Regions from separate parts of the Homo sapiens genome. Here all the other regions are linked to region 5. Evidence: promoter capture Hi-C in 16 types of primary human blood cells and fetal thymus (Javierre and others, 2016). All regions are on one chromosome and are shown on one strand. The core of a region is centred on a gene start or on the middle of the fragment in contact, and the rest is flanking DNA. Distances in the headings are between cores, read along the strand shown.

Evidence for each region. The method cuts DNA at HindIII sites, captures the fragments that hold promoters and counts their contacts. A CHiCAGO score of 5 or more calls a contact.
Region 1: a fragment that was not itself captured here is called in contact with the fragment with the promoter of SDHAF4 in region 5 in 4 of 17 cell types (total CD4 T cells, non-activated CD4 T cells, activated CD4 T cells and 1 more); the score reaches 8.4 in total CD4 T cells.
Region 2: a fragment that was not itself captured here is called in contact with the fragment with the promoter of SDHAF4 in region 5 in 5 of 17 cell types (naive CD8 T cells, activated CD4 T cells, naive CD4 T cells and 2 more); the score reaches 6.4 in naive CD8 T cells.
Region 3: a contact is called between a fragment that was not itself captured here and the fragment with the promoter of SDHAF4 in region 5, in 3 of 17 cell types (total CD4 T cells, naive CD4 T cells and non-activated CD4 T cells). The highest score is 5.8, in total CD4 T cells.
Region 4: a fragment that was not itself captured here is called in contact with the fragment with the promoter of SDHAF4 in region 5 in 2 of 17 cell types (total CD4 T cells and non-activated CD4 T cells); the score reaches 5.4 in total CD4 T cells.

What each region holds. Positions count from the first base shown.
Region 1 is chr6:70,825,303-70,830,704 of GRCh38, forward strand. The region is part of intron 6 of SMAP1 (small ArfGAP 1); the gene reads left to right. Among named protein-coding and RNA genes, the nearest start is that of B3GAT2, 130 kb to the right of the region's middle. The HindIII fragment of the contact is 3,003 bases long and covers 1,703-4,705 here.
Region 2 is chr6:70,898,671-70,903,585 of GRCh38, forward strand. The region is part of intron 1 of B3GAT2 (beta-1,3-glucuronyltransferase 2); the gene reads right to left. It overlaps LOC105377850 (a long non-coding RNA gene), which reads left to right. Exons shown (of 5, transcript XR_001744196.2): 3 at 804-871. Among named protein-coding and RNA genes, the nearest start is that of B3GAT2, 56 kb to the right of the region's middle. The HindIII fragment of the contact is 1,245 bases long and covers 1,242-2,486 here.
Region 3 is chr6:70,856,201-70,861,638 of GRCh38, forward strand. It overlaps SMAP1 (small ArfGAP 1), which reads left to right. Exons shown (of 11, transcript NM_001044305.3): 9 at 659-830; 10 at 1,722-2,029; 11 at 4,000-5,438. The coding sequence ends at 4,134. B3GAT2 (beta-1,3-glucuronyltransferase 2) reads right to left here. Exons shown (of 4, transcript NM_080742.3): 4 at 479-5,438. Among named protein-coding and RNA genes, the nearest start is that of B3GAT2, 98 kb to the right of the region's middle. RefSeq lists a silencer at 1,303-1,452. The HindIII fragment of the contact is 1,294 bases long and covers 1,078-2,371 here.
Region 4 is chr6:70,957,772-70,963,150 of GRCh38, forward strand. LOC124901229 reads left to right here. Exons shown (of 2, transcript XM_047419611.1): 2 at 1-1,146. Among named protein-coding and RNA genes, the nearest start is that of B3GAT2, 3.4 kb to the left of the region's middle. The HindIII fragment of the contact is 1,810 bases long and covers 2,624-4,433 here.
Region 5 is chr6:70,563,111-70,568,473 of GRCh38, forward strand. It overlaps SDHAF4 (succinate dehydrogenase complex assembly factor 4), which reads left to right and starts at 3,820. Exons shown (of 3, transcript NM_145267.3): 1 at 3,820-3,894. The coding sequence starts at 3,831. RefSeq lists a silencer at 4,108-4,167. The HindIII fragment of the contact is 5,796 bases long and covers 3,121-5,363 here.

The sequences.
Region 1 (5,402 bases), core at 1,954-4,453, 260 kb after region 5:
TAAGTGACTTGTTCACAGTCACCCAGCTGGGAAGTGTCCATGCTGGGGTTAAAAACTCAGGTGTTTGGCTAATTTTTTTCTTTCATAGTTTTGCTAATAAGTGGTATTATCAAAAACTACTTTTTTTTTTCCTTCTCTGCAAACCTCCAGAATACTGTGTAAAAACAAGAATAACAATAGTGAGATGAGTGTTAAAGATATAGCTGTAGGTATAGCCACTCCTGTTGGGTTTACTGCTTTTAAAAAAAATCTTGCTAATTCACTACTGAGAGGTGACTGGGCATTTGTGTGCAATCCATAGAGTCTTACGAACAGGAGCTTACCATTGTCAAGAGAGGAACCTATTAATGACAAGTTTAGCAGTACTGTAGCCAATTCCTGTCTAAAGTTAAAGGCTCTAAGTATAATTATGATGGGTATTTCAAATTGGATACTTGTAAGAGTGAAAGCAGGCACTATTAAACAGTTAAGTTGGAATAACAGGCATCAGCTGGAGTTATTTTGAGCAAACCAGGACTTGTGTTCACCTGCCTCTCATTCACACACATGCTAAGCCGAATAAGCATGCCACTCCTGTGTGCCCCAGAAAACTTCTATTTTCTAACTCCATCATTACACTGGTCCACACTGAACCAGATTATGTTTGTGTCCATGTGCATAACTAGAGTATGAGTTTAAGATTAGGAAACGTGTTCTTCATTTTTGTATCCCTAGTGCTTACTAGTCCTGGTATGTAACGATAAAATGTACTACTGCAACCACTAGCAGCTACCATTTATGAAGCACTTATGTGCCAGCTACTGTGAAAGGGACTCTCTTTAAATTACTTTGCTTACTTCTCACAAAAATCCTGCAAAGTATTATTTTAAGGAAACTTACCAGTGTAGCCATTCAGTATTTGGGATGAATAATAAGAAACTTTTTAGAACCATTTATAAAGCACTCTAGGTCATTCTTTGAGAAATGCTACAAACTAGGGAACCAGGAGATTAGAGATGGGCTCACGTCTTGATTTTCAGAAGGAAAATGTAGTGGATTATGAATGCTGTATCATTAAGCTTGACATGGATTCTATGCAAAATTCAAAAGGATTTTTTTTTTTTTTAACAACTTACTTCTTTTCCATAGTCTTACCAGCACTCACTGGTTGCCTGCCATGGATTCTTTAAGAACAGTTCCTGGCTGGCATGGTGTCTCACACCTGTAATCCTAGCACTTTGGGAGGCCGAGGCAGGTGGATTGCTTGAGCTTAGGAGTTCAAAACCAGTCTGGGCAACATGGTGAAATTCCATCTCTACAAAAAATTAGCTGGGCGTGGTGGCTTGTACCTGTAGTCCCAGCTACCTGGGAGGCTGAGGTGGGAGGATCACCTGAGCCTGGGAGGTCAAGGCTTCAGTGCGTGGTGATTGCACCACTGCACTCCAGCCTGGATGACAGAGTGAGGCTCTGTCTCAAACCCCAACAAAACAAAACAAAAATTAGTTGGGCATTGTGGTGCACGCCTACAGTCCCAGCTCCTTGGGAGGCTGAGGTAGGAGGGTCGCCTGAGCCCAGGAGATCGAGGCTGCAGTATAGTGAACTGTGATCTTGCCACTGCACTCCTGCCTGGGCAACAGAGTGAAACCGTGTCTCAAAAAAAAAAAAAAAAAAAAAAAAAAGAAAAAGAAAAGAAAAAAAAAACCCCACAGTTCCTGTCAGACTAAGCTTGCTTATTGGCCAAGATTCTTAAATATGCGTCTGGTCAAGATGTAGACAGGTGGGCCTGATGATCAGATAGTAAGGTAGATTATGAACCGGATAGACAGCTATCCAATTAATAGAATTGATGTCAGTTTAGAGGAAGTTCTCTGCTTTCTTCAGGGGTCAATACTGAACTTCATTCTTTTCAGCATTTTTATTAACTGTGGATATCTGTGCCATATTGTTCAAATTTTCAAATGACCAAGCAATAAAGATTAGTTAAGATATCAAATGACAGAATAAATCCCTCAGATAGTGTTAAAATAAATGCCAACAAATTGGATAAATGTAAAATTCTGAAGCAAATGTACCCAAACTTAACTGTCCTGAATATAGCACAAAAGAAAATGTCATTGAATTTTAGATGACCAAAGGTCTGGTATGAATTAATGGTCTTCTGTTGCTTTGGAGAAGGTCAGCTCCACAAATTTATTCCTCCATTTGTTTTATGCATGGCTGTAGCATAGAGAGTATGGCTAAATGGGTAGATGTTACAAATTGTCTGAAGAGGATACTTTCTAATATTTGTAATTATCCAAATGTAAAATATGCTATATCATCATATGCAGTGATTCCATAACACTGGAAGATTTTCTTACAGAGAGAATGGACGTGTAAGAGAGATGTTACAGTAGTGTTTTGTGTATCACATAATTCACTAAATGTCTTCAAGGCTGCTCCGACTTCTGCAATTTGTGTAAATCCTTGATAACTTCTCCAGCCCAGTGAGATACTGTTTGGGGCGGTAGTGTCCATAGGTCTTACAGAGAACATTTACTGAAAGATGTCCATATGATTGGGGAAATAAAATGTAGATTGTAATAAATCCTAAAAATACAATTTAAGAAAGAATATTAAATTCAAAAAGAGTACTCTATGTGTTGACAGCTTTAATTTGTAAAAGATCTATATTATAAAGAATGGTAAACAGGAGAAAAAGAAACTAAAGATTTTGAATAAATAAGATATTGGGAATAAACAAGAATTATATGCAAAATTTTTTCTCACATAAAATAGTTTTAAGGTTGTATATAATTCAGTTTTGAAAGCATACAAATACAAACAGATATAGTAATTATAGCTATCAATCTATATAGGAATATAAGACTGGTTTTTATTAATGTATTTATAGCATATAGTCAAAAGACTTTATTTGAGTAAACAACTAATGTAGGTAATATAGTGGATAATATTAACTCATGAATTTTTTACTGAAAATTTTAGTAAAGGTTAAACCTATGAAGATTTCAGTAGGTAATCAGATAGGATAGTATTCTGGGAATTAAAGGTTAAACCTATGAAGATTTCAGTAGGTAATCAAGATAGGTTAGTATTCTGGGAATTATGTGTTGTTGAGTAACTTGTTAGAAAATGTATCTCAGATAATCAGGTTCTACTGAGGCCGTAGATTAGTTTTTTCCTAAAGTATTGCTCTGACCACATCACAGTCACAAAGCCTCCCACCTACAACAATGGTGGTCAGATTTTTCTTCCTCACTGCAGTTCATATGCACAACATACTTCTCCAGGAGTAATATTTTTTCTTTTCACTACCCCCATTGAAAAACAGTGACATATATGAATGCTAGCTCTAGTTGGCTATTTATTTAGGTCCTTCCACATTGTGGAAATAGAATAAAAATCTTCAGATTCATCTTTTATTCCTTACATGTAGAACTAGAGGTCAGTCAGATACAAGCACCATCTAGCACCTTTCCCACTCAGTGTTCTTCACATGGTGCCATTGCCAATTCCAGGGAGGTCAATGCTTCAGTGAGTGGTGATTGCTCCACTGTACTCCAGCCTGGGCAAGAGTGAGGCTCTGTCTCAAACCCCAACAGAACAAAACAAAAATTAGCTGGGCATGGCGGTGCATGCCTATAGTTCCAGCTACTTGGGAGGCTGAGGTAGAAGGATCACCTGAGCCCAGGAGATCAAGGCTGCCGTGAGCTGCGATCTTGCCACTGCACTCTAGCCTGGGCAGTAGAGTGCACCGTGTTTCCTATTTGACTCTTTCCTATTTTTCCTACATACACAAAAGTTAATGTCACTACCTTTATAAAATCCTAATCACCCACGACTACCATTACCTTTGAACTTCAAAGAGTCATACTTTTCATGTGGTCTTTATAGTGTACCTTGAGTTAAAATTATTGGCATGCTTGCTCTGACCCTCTATCAGATTGTGTTTATTTTTTTTTTCTGTTTTTTTCTTTGTCTTCTTTTTGTTTTTGTTTTTGTTTTTTTTATTTTTGAGATGTGTTTTTGCTATGTTGTCCAGCCTGTTCTCCAACTACTGGGCTGAAGCGATTCTCCTACCTCAGCCTCACACATAGCCGGAACTACTGTCACGTGCCACCTGGCATGATTTTTTTAAATTGCAGTTTTCTGTTATGTCATTGTAAGAATATGCATGTATTGTTAAGCATTGGGTAAATATTTATTTTTAAATCTAATTTTTGATAGATAGAAATTATTCAGCAAAAGGCACCATGGTGCAGGGCAAGGAACCCTGTTAGGAGATTAACCTTTGCCACGATAGCCACTTACGGAGCCTTTGGACAAATCATGTCATTTAATTTCCTTAATGTTAAAATGAAAAAGTTGAATGTAATACATTTTATGTTTCTTGTTGTTCTAAGATTCTAGGAATATTAAAGGAAACTGATTATAAATAAACTAAGTTATAATTTGAGATGTCAGTTTTAAAAGAAAATTTTGAATAATTACCACTAGAACTTAGAAAATTGTATAGCTTTCCTATTGACTATATATTTATGCTCTTGTCTACATTAACTGGCCAGCTGAAGAATAGTGAATCACCTTCTAGAGGCTCAGCTGTTATGTCTGTTATTTAAAGGGCTAGGAAATGGTGGTAAATGTAGGAGTTGGGACCTAAATAGTTTTTTATTCAATTATATTCTGTGGGGTAGCGTTAATGAATCACAAAAAGATTGGGTAGTAAAGCTTCTGCTAATAAAAGCTTTAATAATTTGAACGAGACATCTGCTCAATGTGATTCTAAGGAAATTACATTTTATAAAATTGCTTTATCTAAGTAGACTTATGTTCTTGCTTGTTAGAAAATTTTGTTTAATAAATTATAGATTGCCTAATTTTATCTACCCACAGTTGACTGCATTCTTCACTTATTAAAAGACAAATTTCCTATGCAATGTTTTCAATAGCAGCAGAATTTAAAGTGGAGTGAGTCTGTATCTGTTGCTTGCCATGTCTGAGATGAATGTGAGGTATCAAAAGGATGACAGTTAAATGAGGGAAGGTGTGGTCATCAAGGTATTAATTTACTGTTATCACACACTAGTATCCCTGCCCATAAATCCTAACAAGATAATAGCATTTTTATTCTTAAATCTTCTAAAATTTGGCTTCCAGATATTATTTACTTTGTATTTATGTGATAGCTATATTTTAAGTATCTTAAATAATTGTATCTTGTAAGTCTTTGCAAAGTACAATACAGTTGGTATGCTACAGAGCAAAAGTACAAATTGATAGTTTATGTATTCATGTTTGTTGTTTAAGGTTTACAACCTTTATGTCTTGAAAATATTGATAAAAATGACTTCTTATGTTATAGGCAAACCTGGAAAAAGTCAAACATGTTCTTGAAGACTTTTCCATTTTAGAAAGTTTTCAGG
Region 2 (4,915 bases), core at 614-3,113, 330 kb after region 5:
TGAAAAACTGGTGGGCAGACCCCATCTGACACCTCTGTGCTCCCTTAAGAATGTATAAGATTGTGCCCTGCACACAGCAGGTATTAAACAACTCTTGGCAAGTGTTTAAATACTAATTAGTCATTTACATATGGGCCCATTAGCCAGGTGTGGTTGGTGGTGTGTGCCTGTAGTTCCAGCTACTTGGGAGGCTGAGGCGGGAGGATTGCTTGAGCCCGGGAAGTAGAGGTTGCAGTGAGATGTGATTGCACCACTGCACTCTGGCCTGGACAATGAAGCAAGACCCTGGCTCAAAATAAATAAATAAATAAATAAATAAATAAATAGGAATGAAAAACAAATAGAAATAAAAAATAAATGTGGGCCCACATGTAACAAGAAATCACTATGTGTCTGTGCTGTGCAAGAGACATGCTCACAATAAAAAAGGGAGACAGGTAATAAATGAACAGAAGGCAAAAGACATTTTTAAAAAAGGAAAAGAGAAATTGCCATTAAAGGGAATTAAAAAGAATAATAAACTATACCTGTGGGACCACTAGAACAATTAAATATGGCCACAGAAATTCAGCATGTTTTGCATTAGACTTTTCATTTAAGCTGGGTCATGAAAGGTATATAGGGTTTTGTCCACAGAATACAGAATGGCCTCAGGTTCTAGGTAACCAGATGAATCAAAGAAGCAAAACTTTGCATGCATTCCTGTGCCAATTTCATGCTAGAAAATGTAGGTTTTGCTTAGCACACTCCAAATTACTGAGAGCAGCTCAGAGCTAACATTTGTTCATGCTTTATTTTTCTAGAGGCTGGGTGTTAAAGGTGAGGCAATGATTATTTAAATGCAGATGACGTGGCGGGATGATGTTTCCAGGTATGCTACATTTTAAAAAGTTTGTCATATAATTAGTTTAAAAACTCAAACAGATCCAGATGCCCTCACCATCTATGCCCTGCTGAAATTCCATGCAGAATGCTTCATCACAGAATTAGCCCCTCTATCCTCGACCACTATACTATATAGAGTGTGCCAGACATTTCAAAGGAAAACGGCACAGCTATTTACAGAACTTCTTCATTTCACTCCTGGGATCTGTCCTTTGTTCTGTGTCATTTTCACTCAATCTATGCTCTTTGAGGATTCCTTAACAGCCCTGTTATTTTCTGAGGGGTAGGGGGAATGTAACAACAACAGTGACTACTAAAAGTATCTTCATGTAACTAAAATATTCTCAGTATTTAAAAGCTTTGCTACTTTCTCAACATGAAATAGCAGTTACATAACAAACACAATCTCAGGTGTCTGGTGTGAACTCCAATCTAAAACAGAGCATTAAAGCAATGGATATTATGATAAAGGGGCAGCAATTCATGTATTTATAGGAGTTATAATATTACAAACAGTTCTGGCCCCCAAAAGCACTCTCTTCCCATTTATTCAATGCCAAAGTCATATTCTGTGGTTTATTCCTCCTGTGATAACCTCCAGCTAAATGGACAGGGCTTGCATAGCAATGTTAATCAACCAAACTCACAGCCAGAGTAATCTCCATAGACCCAATGGCTACAAAGGACACACAAGATATATTTGGTGCATGTGCACACTCCTCCAGGCTGAATGCCATTTAAACTATTCCAGGGTAGTGGTGCTTGTTCATCACGTTGTCATCTTCTCCAGGAAAGGAGGGAGGCAGGTGACTACCATGCACTCCAGTCTGGTGGCCCTTAACAACAACCGGCTCTTTTTTTTTTTTTTGAGTCAGGGTCTCCTCTGTCACCCAGGCTGGAAGTACTCACTGCAGCCCCCAACTCCTGGGATCAAGTGATCCTCCCACCTCAGCCTTCTGAGTAGCTAAGATTACAGGCATGCCATGCCAGGACAGCTTTTTAAATTTTCTATAGAGTTGGGGTCTCACTATGTTGCCCTGGCTGGCAGCTCCTGTTTCTTTAGCCAGCTTTTCTTTCTGCAGCTTTCTGCTACGTTCTTTTCGACCCTCCTTGGGAGATGGCTAACAGCCAGCTCCAGGGACTGGAACACTCAGAAGATCACATTCAGGCAATCATCAGAATGCCCTTAGAGCAAAACAGAAAAAGTTAAATGTCTTTAGCTTCCTTGAAGACATGCCACTAGTTAAAATCTTGTTTTATTTTTTCCAAAGGGAAATGAATAAAGTTATCGATCTTCTGAAATTTAAAATGCTATAGGCAACTTCAAGAAAGTGGAGTTACAATAAAAAATGTGACACTCTGTATCCTGTTTTTTTAAACTAACAATTTCAGTAGCAAAAAGTAAACGAAACCCATCAAATCCAATGGGACCCATGAACTAAGAACACAAAGGAAAGGGCAGTGCAAATATGATGAAGATTTGAACACAGAGGTGATTTGGAAGCAAGGATTCTTTCCAATTTTATTGTCCCTAAACGTGATTTTCCAAAACAAAACGATATTTATATGATCAAATACACCTATAACTTTCCTTTGGAACAAGCTTGAAAATGAACATAAAGTCTGCTTTTCTTCCTCTTTATTGCATCCCCCTCCTAATGATTTCACCATCCATCTTGGCTAGATGATTAAGGGTAACATCGATAGTCATAAATCGTGTTGATAGTATGTACCCTTGCTATGATGTGATGGGAATGACACTTAACCTCTGTGGCATTTTCTAATGCCATTCTCTTATAAAAGAAACCAGGGATTCTTAGAGAAATGGCTGATTCTAGGACTGGGATGGGAAATACACAAGATAAGCCTGGAGGAGCCAGAAAGGAAAGAAGCATTCAAATAAGACAAAAAACCGAACAAACCCACATTGGTGTGTGTGTCAAAGGGACATAGCCAATTGAAACAGCTCCTAGTGGACAAAGCTGGAATAATTTGAGCAACAAAATAAATAATGGTGAATTTGTGTACATTTGACATGATGTTATGAAAGTGGCGTAGAGTGGCTGTGCCCCTCTCAGCAGTGCCAGCCCTCCCCCGTTTGCCACAGTGTCCCCATCATTCCCCACTGCAGTCTCAATGCTGAGTCTGCATGCCAATCACCATTCATTAACCAGCTGATGCTGTCATGGGAGATACTGTATTCCTCTCTTTGAAGTGGGAAACTGAAAAACAGATCAAATGGGCCACGCATTTCAAAAATGTATGGAGGCAGTATTGTTCTATGTATGAAAACAGGGAATGTTCCTAAATATTTAGTGTGAAAAGTATGTGTATAAAGATATCATTAGAAATAAACCATAATAAGAACCATGAGACATGTGAGAAAGGGACATGACTCAAAACATTAATAAATGAAAATGAACCACGTTGAAATTTTAGCCCGTTAGATTTTAATATAAATAAAGTAATACTGCTTATACAAGAACAGCTTCACTTAATTATGTTACTTGCTTTAGGTCATATGTATTTGTGAATTCTGGTATGGACTGTCTAGGAGGGGCCTGACTGGGCTCTGCTTATTATAAAGCTATATAAATCAAGACAATGTGGCATTAGTGTAAGGATAAATACATAGATAAATGGAAGAGACTAGAGAATTTAGAAATAGTTCCTCCTACATATAGTCAGTCGATTTCTGGCTAAGATGCCAAGGCAGTTCAATGGGGGAAAAGGACAGTCTCTTCAGCAATCAGGGCTGGAATGAATGGACATCCATGCTAAAAAAAAAAAGTAGATGTGGAGAAAGAGGGACCCTTGTACATGGTTGGTAGAAATGTAAATTGGCATAGCCATTGTAGAGAACAGTATGGAGGCTCTTCAAAATATTAAAAATAGAGCTACCAAATGATGCAGCAATTCCATTATTGAACATATATATCCAAAGGATATGAAATCAGTATGTCAAAGAGAATGCCCATGTTTATTGCAGCACTATTCACAATAGCCAAGATACAAAATCAACCTAAGTGCCTATCAACAGATGAATGGATTAAGAAAATGGGATATATATATATATATATATACACACACACACACACACACACACACACATATATATATATACACATAAACACAATAGGGTACTATTCTGCCTTAGAAAAGAAGGAAATCCTGTAATTTGCAACAACATAAAAAAACTGGGAAGACATTATGCTAAGTAAAATTCACCAGGCTAAGAAACACAAATACCAATGGTCTCACTGATAAATGGAATCTTAAAAAGTCAAACTCATAGAAACAGAAAGTAAAATGGTGGTATCAGAGGTTGGACAGGGAGTGAGGGGTGGCAGGGGGGCTGGTGGTCAAAGGACAAATTTTTACTTAGAAGGAATAAGTTCAAGAGATCTATTGTATATCATGGTGACTATAGTTAATATATTATATAGTTAAAAATTGCTGAGACAGATTTTTAAGTGTTCTTATCACAAAAAAATGATAACCATGTGAGGTAATATGTATTCCACAATGTATACATGTATCAAATCATCATGTTATACAATATAAATATATACCATTTTTATTAACTAAAAAATTAAAAAAGAAAGAAAAAGAACAACACCTATATCTCACAAAATTCATAAAAATTAAATTAAAATGGGACCATGAACCCAAACACAAAAGCTAAAGTTTTTAAGTTTACAAACTTCTAGAAGAAAATACAGGAGAAAATCTTTGAGGTCTTAGGGTAGGCAAAACTTCCTTAAACACGACATAAATAATAGGAACCTTAAATAAATCTATAAATTGGACTTCATCAAAATTAAAATTTTCTACTCTCCAAAAGATACTATTAGGAAAATTTTTAAAGTAATCTGTAGACTGGGAGAACATATCCTAATACATACATCTGACAAAACACTAGTATTCAGAATGCATAGAACTTCATAGCTCAAGAAAAAAGACAACCCAATTAAAAAAGTCAGTGAAAGATATGAATGGACATTTCATCAAGATATATGAATGACCAATT
Region 3 (5,438 bases), core at 475-2,974, 290 kb after region 5:
TGCAAGATATGAGATTGAGAATATTTTATATTAAATATCTACATGTTTATTTGTATTTGTGTTCATTTGCCCCCTTGTCCAAAAGTGAAGGGCAGGATATGTTCAGACAATAGATGGTCAAAGTTTTGCTGTACCTTCATTTCTGGATAGATTAGAAGCAGTCTAATATTGTAGTTAAAACTGATTAGATGTATAAAAATCCTATGATACAGGTTTTGAAAAGATAAAACCTTTTAAGTAGCCATTGCAAATCCTCTTACAGTCTGTTGTAGTTGTAGAAATGTTCTTTATTCCAAAGGATACCAGTTTCTTGAAGCAGTAGTTGCTATGGAGTGGTGGTCCTCTCATCTCTAACTATTGTTGAGCCCCAGGATTTGATGAGCAAAAACTTGGTGTCACCTTAGGTAGTAAATGCAACTTACTGTGAAAATGCTTCAGTCTACCTACATTAACAGATTCAAATTAAGAAGTACTGTCTTGATTGTAGATGTTTTTATATGGGCTTGGGCTTGTAAGTGATCCTCTTGAATGGCACCATTTTACCTTCTACAATTGTTTGATTCCTATCTAATTTTATAACTTTATTTGGATTTTAAGTAATGGATAAGCTGCGCTTTACTATGCAGAATTTGATAGCTTATTTTGGTGTTTGTCTCAGGGGACACCCTCTGCACCAGCAGCTGCAACCCTGTCTACAGTAACATCTGGGGATCTAGATTTATTCACTGAGCAAACTACAAAATCAGAAGAAGTGGCAAAGAAACAACTTTCCAAAGACTCCATCTTATCTCTGTATGGCACAGGAACCATTCAACAGCAAAGTACTCCTGGTAATGAATTTTGATATCTGCTTTCAGTGACATTACTAGAAGTACATCCTTTGTAATTATATAATAAGATCAATTATATATCTTTTATTGTTCCATGTAGTGAGTGCTTTTGTTGTTGCAGTTTATACAACTATGAAGCCGAAATGAATGAGCATTAGAATTAAAAAATTAAGAGGCATGTACAGGATTCACAGAACTTTATTTGGAATTAACAAGCTGTTCATAGATCACTAAATGTTGTTTCACAAGCTTATAGAACATGGATTATCTTTGATGAATTATTGAAACGATTTGCATGAAGTTTATGACTGCGTACAGTGTATTTTCTCTGCAGGTAAACAGTCTTGAGTTACCACATGGATTAAAAAAAATCTATGAATTTTTTTGTAATCATAACAAAATATTAGCATAAGCCTTATTGTTTACAGAGTTTTAATCTTTCACACCATTTCCTTTAAAATAATGAGCTGCATTTCACATGTGAGCTAAAATTGTTGGGCAGCCCACTACACCTATTGAAGCGAGATATAGTCAGCTCTCACTTCCCTGTTTCGTACTGGGGGACCAGTGGTACAAATCAGCAATAAAACAGTGTATGATGTCATGCTACATAGTTTGGTCTTCACAGTGGAAGATATTTTGTGTGGCTGTTGCATATGATTTACATTTCTTAATTAAATTTACTCAGGTTAATAACTGATTTGTCTGCATCCTAGAAACAACCAGCTCTCAGGGTTTAGGTGTGGGTTGGTCTGAGTAGTAGGAGCAGCCAAACTGGAATTAAAATGTTTGCTGTGAGTAGTTCAGAAAGGCAATTTTTCTGTGATTATAGAGATGAGTGCAACTACACGTGATAGCTCTGTCTTCATTCATTTTCTTTTTGTGGTGCAGGTGTATTTATGGGACCCACAAATATACCATTTACCTCACAAGCACCAGCTGCATTTCAGGGCTTTCCATCGATGGGCGTGCCTGTGCCTGCAGCTCCTGGCCTTATAGGAAATGTGATGGGACAGAGTCCAAGCATGATGGTGGGCATGCCCATGCCCAATGGGTTTATGGGAAATGCACAAACTGGTGTGATGCCACTTCCTCAGAACGTTGTTGGCCCCCAAGGAGGAATGGTGGGACAAATGGGTGCACCCCAGAGTAAGTTTGGCCTGCCGCAAGCTCAGCAGCCCCAGTGGAGCCTCTCACAGGTAGGGGTCATTTACTTTCTAGCTTCTCCCAAATCAAACCAGATTTATTTTCTAAATCTTTTTTTTTTTTTTTTTTTTTTTTTTTTAAGTCTAGTGATCTGGCAGAAAGAATTCAATAGGGATAATATGTTATAGGGTCAAAAGTATCTATAAATATTATGAAGTTGTATCAGATAGACAAATGATGTGTTATTATCGCTATTTTAGAGTATTCTGTAAAAAAAAGGTTAAACATCTTTCATTTCAAATTGTAATGTAACTGTAACGTGAACACCACTAATGGCCAGAAATTATCTCAGGCATCATGAGACTCCCTCTCTGTCACCTCTGAGATTAGCACTAAGCTTTATCCAGCTTGCTGGTGGGACATTTTTACAGTCCACTTAGACAACTTAGCTTCACTAATAATTTTAGGATCTTTTATTAGAAAATAAAAATCTAGCCTCATATTCTCAAAGCACTATTTTATGAGGGATCTAAGGCTATTTTTCAGGTCGGATGATTACTGCCCCATGGCTCTGTAAAAATTCTTTTTGTTGAGAAACCTTTGTAAAGTTGTATTTTCTTTTTACATACCCTATAATGACTTTTATGTTTAAAAAGAGTACAAAAAGATTCAATTCCCATAAGGTGTGAACCAGACATCCCCTCATATTATAAAATCCTATTTCTACCTAAGTTAGAGCTGAGATAGAACATTTCTATTTCAGGTGCTGTGTTCTGACTTTTCTCTAGCTGCACAGACAAAGGCTCTTAGAGAGGTTCATGCTCCCACTCTTCTTCCTTTTACACTTCCCATTGATGTTCCTCCAGCATTTTGGCAATCTTGGTTTCTGTTTGGTCACTTGTTTTACCTTTAGAGCATTCAGGGAATAGTCTAGAGTGATTTCTAACATTAGCACAATCACTATATATCACAGTTAATTTTGCTACCACCATTTACAAGAATATAGGTAAAACATTGGTCTCTACCCGCTGGGAATCTAAAAAATTGTATGTGCTAAGTGTCAGTCACATGGTCAACATGCTGAAGCACACCCAGCTCAGGTTAAGGTGCTAGATGAACCAGGAAGGAGTTAATACTGGCTCTTACTTCCAGATAATGCAGAAGGGTGATGCTGTTCTCCAGCACTCCATCAGTGCAATCTACTGGCCAATGACAAGGTGGTTAAAATGTCCTTTAGTAGGTATGAAGACGTGATCTGCTTCTTCAGACACTTATGCCTGATTAGTGATGTAGTTTATGTTAGTGTCTTTGAAACTGTAAATAAGTCAAGTCAAATGTATTAAATTAAGAACACAGTCTAACTCTGAGTGTAAGTTTTAAACCCACTCACTATATGGTAAATCTTGCCTTTCCTTCTCTTATCACCAATTTTGGAAGTAAGAGAATCACAGGGTTAAGATGCTTATATATATATATATTTGACTCCAGTCTTGAAGAAAAATACATGTAATCTTATGCTTTATTGCATACAATGAAAATAAATTTTAGATGTTTATGTTGTTAGATCAGCGAGAGAAATAAATGCTTTATGACCACTTTAAAAATATTTAGGAAGTATATAAGATTTTAATAGAGAATAATATCTATCATACAAAGTTTATAGGATAATTTTAGACTATTTTACTTCCTAAAATTTTCTTACTCCTTAGTAGTTAAAGCACAATATCCTAGTGTAGGTGAAAGTTAGTTAGAGTAGCGGACTCATTAAAATCCCAAGATTGCTTTGGTATTTTTTTTTAAGTAAGTTGTGGTTAATCTTTGGGGAAACTGTATCTAGAAAGTAGATAAAGAAGGGAACAAAGTAGCTATTTGCTTTAAGAAATATTTGTATGGTACTCTGTTTTTATTCCAGTGCTTGGACTAGTTGTCACATTAATGAAAAAATGACCAACTGTGTGGCTAAAGAAACAAGAATTAAAAGTGAAGTAAGCCTCTTGAACTAAGCCTTTTATATGTTTCACAGATGAATCAGCAGATGGCTGGCATGAGTATCAGTAGTGCAACCCCTACTGCAGGTTTTGGCCAGCCCTCCAGCACAACAGCAGGATGGTCTGGAAGCTCATCAGGTCAGACTCTCAGCACACAACTGTGGAAATGAAAACTGCAATACAAGTTTCATCCAGAACTACCACCTGACATTCCTTGCTGAAACGCATCTAGTTCCCCTGTTTATTCATATGCATATTTTTTTTCTTTTTACCCATTTGTTCATATTAAGAATGATCTGATTGACCGTGTTGGTCTGTACTGATTCAATTTGATGTGGTGAAAAGCAGGTTGATAAATCATTTTATGTCAAGGGCAGCTTTGCTCATATTTCCCATGATTTCATGTACTGCATTATTTGAGAAGCTGCTCAACTTGCAAAATCAGTTTTCCTCTCAATAAAATTATAGCTCTAATGTTTGCATATAAGGGAAGTAGTTATCATGTTAGTAATACCTCTAATAGTATAAACCCCACCCCAAAATTAGCCAGTAATCCTGTAGGAAGGTACTGTATGATCAAATGTTTAATCATATAAATAGAATGTAAATGTCTCACTGAGCACTGTTTTCTAGTGTATCAAAATGCTCTTATTTCATCATTCACTTCACTGTGCTGTTGTTATGATGTGCTTAACAGGGAACGTGATTAGTGAAAGGAAGATAAACGTGGATGTTACTCCAAAACTTCGTTTAATGAATGCTTAAAGAATTCAAATTTTATCTGCCTCTCTTGTAATTTGGATCTCTTCTTAATGTACATAGTGCTAACATGAAGACCTTTTTCTGCACTATATGCAAACAGGGTAACTAACTAAAACAAAGCCACTTTCAATCTTCAATCCTTGAAGGTATATCTAGGTTTATGACAGTAATTGTGTTTACATTTTATGGTGCCTAGTATTGACAAAATGTTATTTCCCTACATTAAACATGACTCCATAGACCTTTTCATTTGTGGGTTTTTATTTCCTATGATGTATACTGCCACTAACCTTCCAAAAATTACTTAGTATTGCAAAGTCAGGAATCATCAGGAACGTTTAGCTGACAAAATACTTGTCTGTTTTAAAAACCTGTTCAAGTCTACCAACCTGTTCAAGTCTACCAATTATAAGGGCAAATTGGAGAAAAAGAAAAAATATATACTCAAGAGTGGTATCTTGCAGTATCGGCACTGTACAAAAAAATCTTCCAATTTAGTTGTTGTAGAGAAAACATGCAGAACAAATGAAGACAAAACATACATTTTGTACCAACCATCCAATTAGCTTATGTTAACTGACAAGCTCCATTTAAACAGATGTCCATCAGATGACAAGAAAGGCTGCTGTACTGAAGTAAAACAAACAATACCTGAATGCTCTGTAGCCTAAACTCCAAACATCCTCTTCCATATGGATCCACTGGCTGGACA
Region 4 (5,379 bases), core at 2,279-4,778, 390 kb after region 5:
AGTTCTTCGCTGTCACCGGAATTACTCCGTTTGGCTCTCCCAAGGCTCCTGTCAAGAAGGCCTAAGAAGTAGAATGGCCTTCATTTTCAGGATAAGGAAGCTGAGGTTCAGGGTTTAAAATGATTTCTCTGAGGTCAGTGGCAAGTGGCATATGGAAATAGAACGTGGGTCTCCTGCGTGTGTCTATAGCTAGTGGCGTCCTCACTGCATGGCCTGCAGAAATCCCACCCAACACAGCCGGGCCGGTTTGGCCTTCCTACATATAAAGATGGTGCGATTGAAATCAAACAGAGTGTACCATGACGAATAGAACCATGATAGGGTCTGGAAGACCCCAAGTAAACAGTTGGCACTTAGTTTAGACACTTTTTGCTGTCTAGCTGGCCTACTAGCTGAGTGCCTGACCTTCTGTAACTTACCAGGAAGAAGGGCTGTGCTTCCCAGGCAGGTCCCAGGGAAGTGCTTGCAAAGCAGAAGGAAAGCTCCAGACTGTTCTGCCCTAGCCTATGATAAATAATTTCTGAGCCCATCTTGTCTGGGTTGTCTGCCTTTCTCGGGCTTGTTCACAAATAAATCTCTCTCCGACTGTGCGTTCTGGTGCAACTGAGAGCTCTGGGGCGAATGGCTCTCCAGCTTTTCTGACAGCTCCTCTTCTCCCAGTCCTACCCCTGAACCCCCCACCTGTTAAAAGGCATTGGCTCATCTGTGAATTTCCCTAACTTCCTCTTCAGATTCTGAAACGTGAGAGTGAAATTTCAGACTAACACCCAGCCACCCCAACAACTCCCTAGAGCTAGCCTTCTGTCCCAACTTCCCTGTGCCATCCACAACTCATACATTAAACTCTGCAGATTAGTGCATCCTAAACATAGAAAACAACGAAGCCATTAGACCTCTTCCCATTCTCTCGAATAGCCTAATGTGCCTCTGAATATAACACAACCTTGGAAATGTATTCTGCACCAGCATCATGCCAGGATGGGGAAGAGGAAAGAAGTCAAGGCCTCCCTTTAAGAAAAGGTTTTTCTTAGGAAGCAGTGCACCCCTCTCCCCTAAGTTACTGAAGTCTGGTTCATCCTGTTGGAAATTTTAAATTTGGTTAAAATGCCTTGTGTTTGCTGGAATAAAATTCATGTTGTTACTGAATTGTACTAAAAACATCACTAACCTTTGTTAGTGGGGAACTTTTGGTTGGTCCAACTATGCCATAAAACCTATTTGCTATTACATCCTCTCCAGGAACCAGGGCTATTCAGAGATGAAACACTGTGTGTGTGTGTGTGTGTGTGTGTGTGTGTGTGTGTCTGTGTGTGTGAGAGAGAGAGAGAGAGAGAAAGACAGACAGACAGGGTCTCTCTTCAATGCCAAGGCTGGGGTGCAGTGACTTGAACACAGCTCACTTCAGTCTCGATGTCCTGGGCTCAAGCAATCCTCCTGCCTCAGCTTTTTGAGTAGCAGGAACTACAGATATAAGCTGCTACACCCTGCTAATTTTTTCATTTTAGTTTTTGTAGACTGGGGTCTCCTATTACCCAAGATGGTCTTGAACTCCTGGGCTCAAGCAGTCCTTATGCCTTGGCCTCCCAAAGTGCTGGGATTACAGATGTAAGCCATTGTGCCTAGCCCAAAGCACTTTCAAAATCAATTGAATTTGCAGTTTGAGACTTTAGCTCATGCCCAGAATTCATGGGTGTCATAAAACACAACACTTAATTAGCACATCACAGACTGTCACTTCATTTTTTTCTATTACCCTTAGCATTTGTACCCAGGTTTATTTCATTCAGTCATCTGTTGGGGAGCTTCATGGTTCTTGGAGTCAGGCAGACCTGGGTTTGAGTCCCCTCTGGGATACTTTCTACTGTGCAACTTTAGAAAATCAGTGAACCTCCCAAGGCCTGTTTCCTCATCTGGAAAATGGGGTTAATAATACATACTCCATGGGAATCTTGCAAGGATTAAATGGTGTATGTTGGGTAGTTTGAAGAAGAGCCATTATTACACAGGCAGTCAATAAATGATATTTCAATACAGATAACCCTTCCTCAAAAGAACACCTTAACACAAGAGATCTTGATGGATCATCGTTATCAAATGAATATAAAATGAAATCTAAACAGGACTGATAATGCTTCTAAATAGTACCTCTGCTTGTAATGAAGATAATTCCTAGAGTGTATGTTAGAGTCTTCCCAAGTTGGTCTAGGGAGTGGAAGAAAGAAGAAATAAATTTACCCCAAATGCAAGGTATAGCTTGTCATGCAATAAGGATGACATGATTCCAAGTGACATTTATTTCAGATGGCTGAATATGCCATATTGTTTTACATTAAGCCACTCAATATGTGGCCCCGAATCTCTTATGATCAAATCTGAGCAAAGATATAAAGATACGAAAATTATCATTAAGGATGTCCATTAGAAGTACAAAACCAGGGCAAAACATTTTTAAGTGCAAAAACTTATACTTTAAAAATATGTCACGAGTCTATCAGGGGCTGGAATGGAAACAACTCCTTTAAATGGGAGCTTGGAGAAAATGTCATTTTTATGAAGCATAATCACTAAGTAAGCTATGGTACTTTTCCATATAGCTTATGATATTCTTACATAAAACAATTTAAGCTTGATCTGTGGCTGATAATGAAGGTTGCTGGAAGTCACTAGAGTAATTAAAATAATTACCTAACTTCGGAGCGTCTGCACATCCTCTCAGTGTTTATTTTCATTTAATCTCTCTAATTATTTATGTAGCAAAGTGAGCATTGCTTCGTCTGTACTAATGAAGCCTTAGATTGCTGGCATCAGCCACTGCATTTCAGCATTCAGTTGTTGTTCTCAAATAAACAAAGGTAAAAAAAATCCCATTTGGGGAATTAACAAAAACCATATCATATAATCACTAAACATTTACATTTTGCCTTGATGAGTAATATGCAACTGTAACTTCAGCAGCAGAAAGACTGCAATATGGTTACTGCACTGTACAGAAATGATCCCATTTGACATTTGAGCCTGGGGTTCTGCTAGTGTGACTAAATCAACCTTCAAGTAAGCATTTGGGGACATCTTTGATATTCTTAGTCAAGTAGGAAAAGGATTGTACAAAATTAAGTATTTATAAATATATAATATTGTAGTTATGCAAATTAGGTTTTGAAGAGAATCAGAACTAATGCATGTATGAGTAATAATGTAACGTGAAAGTATTGATAATGTCCACATGCATGCGAACATAAATACCTTCTGTTAAAATATCAGACACAATTATGTGAAAGAATGATATCAAAATAAATAATTCTAACAGCCCCAAATTCCAGGGATACATGACAGTTTCATTGATAACTGTCAGAAAAATGACATCTAAACTACAAATTAAATGGCTCATTTGTTCTTTTATGCATCCGGATCCTCTACAAATATCTCTTTTTGCCTAGAATTGTTCTAAATTATAATGTTTCCTTAACATTTTAGACATTTGCAGCCATTATGTACAAAATGTGACATTAGAGGTAGTTCAGTAAAATCCCATTTTTATAGGATGGGTTAGGAACAAGGTTTTTCAGTAAAAGTGATTTTCTAGAAAAGTAGAAATTGGCAATTTACCTTAACAATTCCATTGAAAACTAATTCCATTCAGTGTGAATAAGAGCTGACGATATAGCATACCAGTGTTCCTTCCTTTCCTTTTATTAACGGATTAGAATGCACAAAAAAACCAATAAAACATGCATAAAGACATACTGGCATTCTTTCTTTTTCCCCTCACTATCTTAAAAATTGGCATTTACATTAAAATAGTAATTTGTTAGACATGAATTTTATTGTAAAACTACATAACCTACCTTTCTGGTTGTTATGAAAATCAAAGAAGATAATGTAGATGAATGTAATTTTAGACACTGTAGTTCATACCTGTAAGAGAATCTCCCTCTATCTTACAGGAGGGGCATGCAACAACATTGGCCATGGGTTGTAATTGTTGAAACTAGGAAATGAAGACCTGGGGTTCCTTATATTATTGGGCCTATTTTTGCGTATGTGTCAACATTCCCATGATAAAAAATTAAAATATGTAAAACAGGTTATGTTCTACCACTTGTTTGCCAAGATAATACTGCTTCCAACTGCTCTTGTTTTAAGAACTACATCAAGTGCCTGATTTGTGCAAAATATTATGGGTTGAATGTATCCCCTCAAAATTCATACATCAAAGTCCTAACCCCCAGTACCTCAGAATGTGACCGTATTTGGAAACAGGGTCATTGCAGATGTAAGCAGTTAAGGTGAGTTAATACTGGAGTAGGGTAGATCCCTAATCCAATGTGAATGGTGTTCTTATTAAAAGGGGATGTTTGGGCACAGGGGCTCGAACACAGGGAGAACACCACGTGGAGATTGGAGCTATACTGCCACCAGTCAAGGAATGCCAAAGCTTTCCAAAAAAACCACCAAAAGCTAGGGGAGGCACATGGAACAGATACTTCCCTGGTGCATTTGAAGTGAGTGCGGCCCTGTGGACACCTTAATTTTGAACCTTTGGCCTCCAGAACAGTGAGACATAAATTTTTGCTGTTTAAGCCACCCAGTTTGTGGAACTTTGTTACAGCAGCTGTAGCAAACTAATACAGATAGGAAGTGATGGTGGTAGTGCAATTATAATCTGATAGGAACTTGTGCATAATGATAGGATGAAACCAACAGGTGTTTGTGTGCACACGCATGCATGGGAACAAAGGAATAGGTGAAGAACACTGAGTACAGAACTCATCAGCTTCCTCAAAGCTTCAAAGTGAAACATTGATGGGTGGGATTTCAAATCCAGACTCTATGGTATGATTGACGGTACTCGAGAGGCCTAAGCAGTACTCGAGAGGCCTAAGCAGGCAACAGGCTTGACGGAGGAGACTAAAGAGAAGGCTTACTAAGTGAATACTGTCTTCCGTAACTGACATAACTTTCTGCCACGGGAAAACCTCCTTTCCCAGTAAATACTAGTTGAATCATCTAACCCCACTCTATGGCTTTTAAGGCCAGTGTAGTGCCAGTTGGGGTTTTGCCCAGATGTGTCACCCCCAACAGATTGGTACTGGCCACCGTAAGCCATATTGGTGGCCGTGGGCTCAGGCATCTCTGCAGCCAGATCAGAAACTGCTGTCACCATGCCTTTCCTCCACAAGAAGATAGTAGAAGCATTTACAGTCATTTTATCATGAAGCCATTTTACTATTTTAGATGAAATTTAAAAATTAATGTAGCTTTTCATCACATCTATCTGTAATTCACTCAAGGATACATCTTGATCAAGGATACAACCCCTGGGCAGGGTATAGTGGCTCACACCTGTAATTGAGGCCAGGAGTTTGACACCAGCCTAGG
Region 5 (5,363 bases), core at 2,570-5,069:
TTATGTATCCAGTGGATGACAGAGGATCTGAGGTGTGGGTGGTCTTGCCTATATATGGTTGTAATAGTCTTATATGTAAATGTTACCATTCAGCATGGTATTTTTTAAAATAAAATATAAAAACATGGTATTGTGAGGAGGGATTCCAGGAGACCCCCCTGACTTCTGGTTATACTGTTCTCCCTACTCTCTTTTCTCCATGGTCATCAGGGCCAATCACTCCAGCTAGCACCATCACCACTTTCTCTAACCTTACCTAGAGGAATGAGGTCAAAATGGCTGGGTGGCAATTCCAGCTGGGCACAAAAATTGCTATACCAACAGAACCTGGACTCAGAGATGGCTAGCAAGAGTAGTGAAGGGTCTGAGATTTTATCCTACTTGCAAGGTTACAGGCTAGGTTGCTGCAGTTTCATGGATGATGACAGGATACTCCTGGACAAAAGACAAAACAGCTTTATTACAGCAAAATAGAAGCCAGAGTGTCCGCATATTTGCATCAGTTCCCGTAGCCCAATTCCCACAGTGTGATGCAGAGGGCCGGATGACGTCTGTGCACATGGGGGGTTGCATTACAGAAGAATCCAGGATCAAGAATCAAGCAGTTTTTGAGCAAACAACAAACAAGCTAGTCTCTCTCCCCCAGGGAGCAGCAGTTAAATGGTAGTAATGCTGTGATTGCCTTGACCTACTTAGGTGCCTATATGACTAACTACAGAAACTGCTTAGCATCAGGAGATGGATACGGCTTGCAGTCTGGCACACTCAGTAATAATATACAGGCATGTTCAGGGGCCTTCGGAGCTTGTCTCTTCTCTACTACAATGGAAAGCAAAATATATTTTATATCAGTAAGTCATATGCAATAGTAAGAAGTCAGACCCTTTTCTACTCTTTGATCTCTGTTATTCTGTCAACAGAAGATATATCACCAAATACCGTTGACTCATTTGGAAAATATGACAAATCCTTTAGGGCAGTATCCCAAAGTGTATTTTCTCACCTCGTTCCAAAACAACCTTCAATAAGGCTGTCCGTCATTCCATAAAATCGGTTGCTTTTGGATGATGGAATATATAAGACTGTGAATCCTGCAGGCATTAGTCCCCTGCTTTACATCTTTCACAAGAAAATGAGTTCTTCGGTAAGAAGCAATGTTGTATATGATATTGTATTAAATATGGAGTAGTGTGTTAAGGTATTCAGTAAGTCCACAGGTGAAGTATATAATAAGCATAAATCAGGGAAAACAATCTAAATGCAGAATAATTGTCTCTTCCTGTAAGAACAAATTGCAACCTCCTTCATAACAGTAGGATTTCATTGTAATCAGACCTGCCACCCAGACCACATAAAAGTGTATCATGGGATCAAGTTGGTCACTGCAGTTGGCGAGTAGTGGTAGTAGCCAATCAGTCATGGCAGAAGAAAGACGGTGTTAAAAGTACATGTATGTCTCCATTCTTGCCACCGTGGCTACCTTGTTACTGAGTCCACACCTGTTGTGGGGGAAGGAGGCTGAGTAATTGATGTCCACAGAATGGGTCACTGTTGCAGCCCTTGTGTAATCCCCTTTTGAGAGTGGCCGGGACCTAATAATAGGATACAGTGGAAGTGGTGGGATGTCGCTACCGAAATGAGATTACAGAAGTTCAGGGCTTCCATTTTGAGTGGTCTTTCTTGCTCCTTAGTTCATTTGTCCTGTGGAAAGCCAGCTGCCATGTTGCAAGATAGCCTTTGGAGAAGCCCACTTAACAAATAACTGAGAAGGTTTCCAGTCCAAAGTCCACAAGGAACCAAATCTTGCCAATAATCATGTGAATGAGCTTGGAAGCAGATCTTCCCTTAGTTGTGCATTTATACGAGACTGGGACTTCAGCCAACAGCTTGGCTGCAACCTCATTTAGGACCCAGAACCACAGTCACTCTGGCTTCTAGGTTACTGATCCACAAAAACTGTGAGAGAATAACTGTTTATTGCTTTAAGCCAATAAATTTTGGGATAATTTGTGAGGCAGCAATAGATAACTAATAATCTTGTTCTGATTAAGAGCCCTTCTGCAATGGAAGCTCTTTTTTTTTTTTTTTTTTTTAACGTTCAATAGGACCCAAATGTTTTCATGCTTTGGGACCACTTTGAGAGGTCCTATTCCAAAGACCCAGTCCAAAACTTTTACATTCCCAGTTCCCAGCCACTTGACAAACCAGTCACTGCCTATGAAATGTCGATTTTTATCTCAAGCCATGTCTCTTTTTAGGCAAAGCATACAAGATAAGCTAAATTCTGGCCAGGCACAGTGGCTCACACCTGTAATCCCAGCACTTTGGGAAGCTGAGAGGGGTGGATCCCTTGAGGCCAGGAGTTTGAAACCAGCCTGGTCAACATGGCGAAACCCTGTCTCTACTAAAAATAGAAAAATCAGCCAGGTGTGGTGACATGTGCCTGTAAAAACATAAAATACATAAATAAGCTAAATTATGCATGCTGGAAATAATTTTTTTTCCCTGTTCTGTTCCTTCAGGGCCTCTGTTAAGTGGGGCTCTAAATATGAAAAGCAGTCAGTTGCCAGCTGGGCCAGTTTATTGAGCAAAGCCATCATCCGACTTTGAATTTTTTCCTCAGTCAGCTAGTCACAAGGAATTCATTATTAAACTGTAGATATAAGCTAAAGGTCAAAAGCATGATATTAGGACTGTGAGCTCCCTACAAATGAAAACTGTTTCCGTTTTGACTTTGGCCCAGTTCTGTGTATCCCACTTTCTCTCTTTTTTCTTTTTCTGTTTTTGAGATGGAGTTTTGCTCTGTCTCCAAGGCTGGCGTGCAGTGGCGTGATCTCTGCTCACTGCAATCTCCGCCTCCCGAGTTCAAGCGATTCTTCTACCTCAGCCTCCCAAGTAGCTGGGATTACAGGAATGTGCCACCTCGCCCGGCTAATTTTTGTATTTTTAGTAGAGTGTTGGCCAGGCTGGTCTCGAACTCCTGACCTCAGGTAATCTACCCGCCTCGGCCTCCCAAAGTGTTCGGATTACAGGAGTGAGCCACCTTGCCCGGCCCACTTTCTCTTCGTAAAAGGATCTCCTTATCTAGGAGAACCAGATAATTCTCAGTTCATGATAAGAAGCTTCGATCGTATAACCACTTGATGTCACATGGTCAGACACTACCAAGGCGCAATAGCTAGCCAGAAACTTTTCTTTAAAAGAAAAGACAAAATTCCAGAATTCTGGGGGCCTTCACTATGATTCTGTAAATATTTCCACGAGTTGCACAAAGCATCCAGGTCTGCCACATCCACTCAACGCTATCAGAGCTGGTGGGATGTAAGGGTTAAGGGGCAGAGCTCATTGCACTGGATCCTGGCCTGGATGGAGAGCCTTTTCTTGCTTTGCACCTCATTCAAAAATGTCGCCTTTCATATCATCTGGTTAGTCGGTCAGAATGGACGAACTAGGAGCTGACTGAACAAAGATTTAAAACACAAAACAGGGAGAATTAGGTAAAAGAAGCATTTTACATGAGTGAGAGAGTAAAAGGTGCTCAATCTTTGTAAACTATAAAAGGGATCTTCCACGGGCCATTTCGGCTCAGACTGACAAGCATGAACGGAACGGAATTATTCCCTCTTCTAACTGCAGCCACGATTTGGCGTTTTAACACCGGGCTCAAGGTAGCCTGGGTCTCTCTTGGCCAAAGAGCCCAGGGATGCCTCTAACTCCTTTTCTAAAGCCGGCCACGGAGGCCCCGCCCTCTGCAGGGAGGCTCCGGATCATGCCCCCTGCTCCTCCCACTACTGCTTTGCGCCTGCGCGGAGGCTCGGGGAGTCGGCGCCATGACCCCATCGAGGCTTCCCTGGTTGCTTAGCTGGGTCTCGGCCACGGCGTGGAGAGCGGCAAGTAAGCACCTGGCCTCGGGGCCACGGTCGCGGGAGGGGTCGTGAAGGCCCAGGCGCAGAGAGAAGCGCCTCCCGCGGAGGAAGCCGCGTGTGTCCTGGCCGTTCGGTGTTGCCAGGGGCTGCCCAGCTTCTCCCGCCCAGCCGCCCACCCGGTGGCCTGGGCAGGTTCCTGCAGCGCCCCGGGTCTCGGGTGGGACTAGAGCGAGAAAATCGCTAAGGCCCTTTCAGCCCCCGGGACGTCCGCTTCCTACCGAGCACGCGGTGGCCCAACAGGACCACAAACGTTCCGGGTTGTTCCTGTGGGAGCTCGCAGGGCACACCGCACTTCGATGCCCCAGAGAAAAATGGAAAAGAAGGCCCTTTGGGAATGGGAGTCATTGATTTACTTATTTATTTACATCATTATTTACAGGAATCCGCGCTCCTGGTCCAGGCTCCAGCAGAAAAGGATTTGTGGCAGTTTACAGTTTATCTTTTAAAAATGGGAAAAGTGCAGAAGTGAGCCAAAGGCAAATAAGTATAACGTAAATTAGATGAAGCCAGGAATTGTCAGTACAGAAAAAGCATTCATGCTTTCAGTAAAACCAACATTTTTAAACCCATTGTTGTTGGAAATTTTTCTCAAGATAATACAGTTAGCAGCCCAGACTATGCAAAACATAATTTTATTTATTTATTTATTTATTTGTTTATTTATTTTGAGATGGAGTCTCGCTCTGTCCCTCAGGCTGGAGTGCAGTGGCGCAATCTCGGCTCACTGCAAGCTCTGCCTCCCAGGTTCACGCCATTCTCCTGCCTCAGCCTCCTGAGTAGCTGGGACTACAGGCGCCCGCCACCGTGCCTGACTAATTTTTTGTATTTTTAGTAGAGACGGGGTTTCACCGTGTTAGCCAGGATGGTCTCGATCTCCTGACCTTGTGATCCGCTCGCCTCGGCCTCCCAAAGTGCTGGGATTACAGGCGTGAGCCACCGCGCCCGGTCCGCAAAACATAATTTTAATATATGACACCTGGAGAAGTTATGTAAGTTGAAAACAGTAATTATTGCCCTCAAATGGTGCCAGATTTCTATGCAATTTGTTTTCCTTTGTGCAATCATTTTACCCAAATACAAACATTTTACTTAATTGTATAAGTTTTAAATAGTCCAGAAATGAATAATACAGAAAGTGAAAGTCCTACATTATCCAAACCTCAAGGTAATAACGTTAAAATTTTGTAGGGTTCATTCAACATCCCCCTTTAACTAGTTTTAAACAATTATGAATTATTCCATATATATATATGTATACACACACACACACGTAGCACACATGTAAGCTATGTAGCAGTCATGTAAGCTATGAAGCACAACCAGCATCTATGAACTTATACTCCAATTTAAGAAATAGTCTCTATTGCCAAGGAGGTCTCTATTTGCTGCTTCCTGATACAACTGTGCAATGGTGTTTTTAATCTTTATAGAAATGTT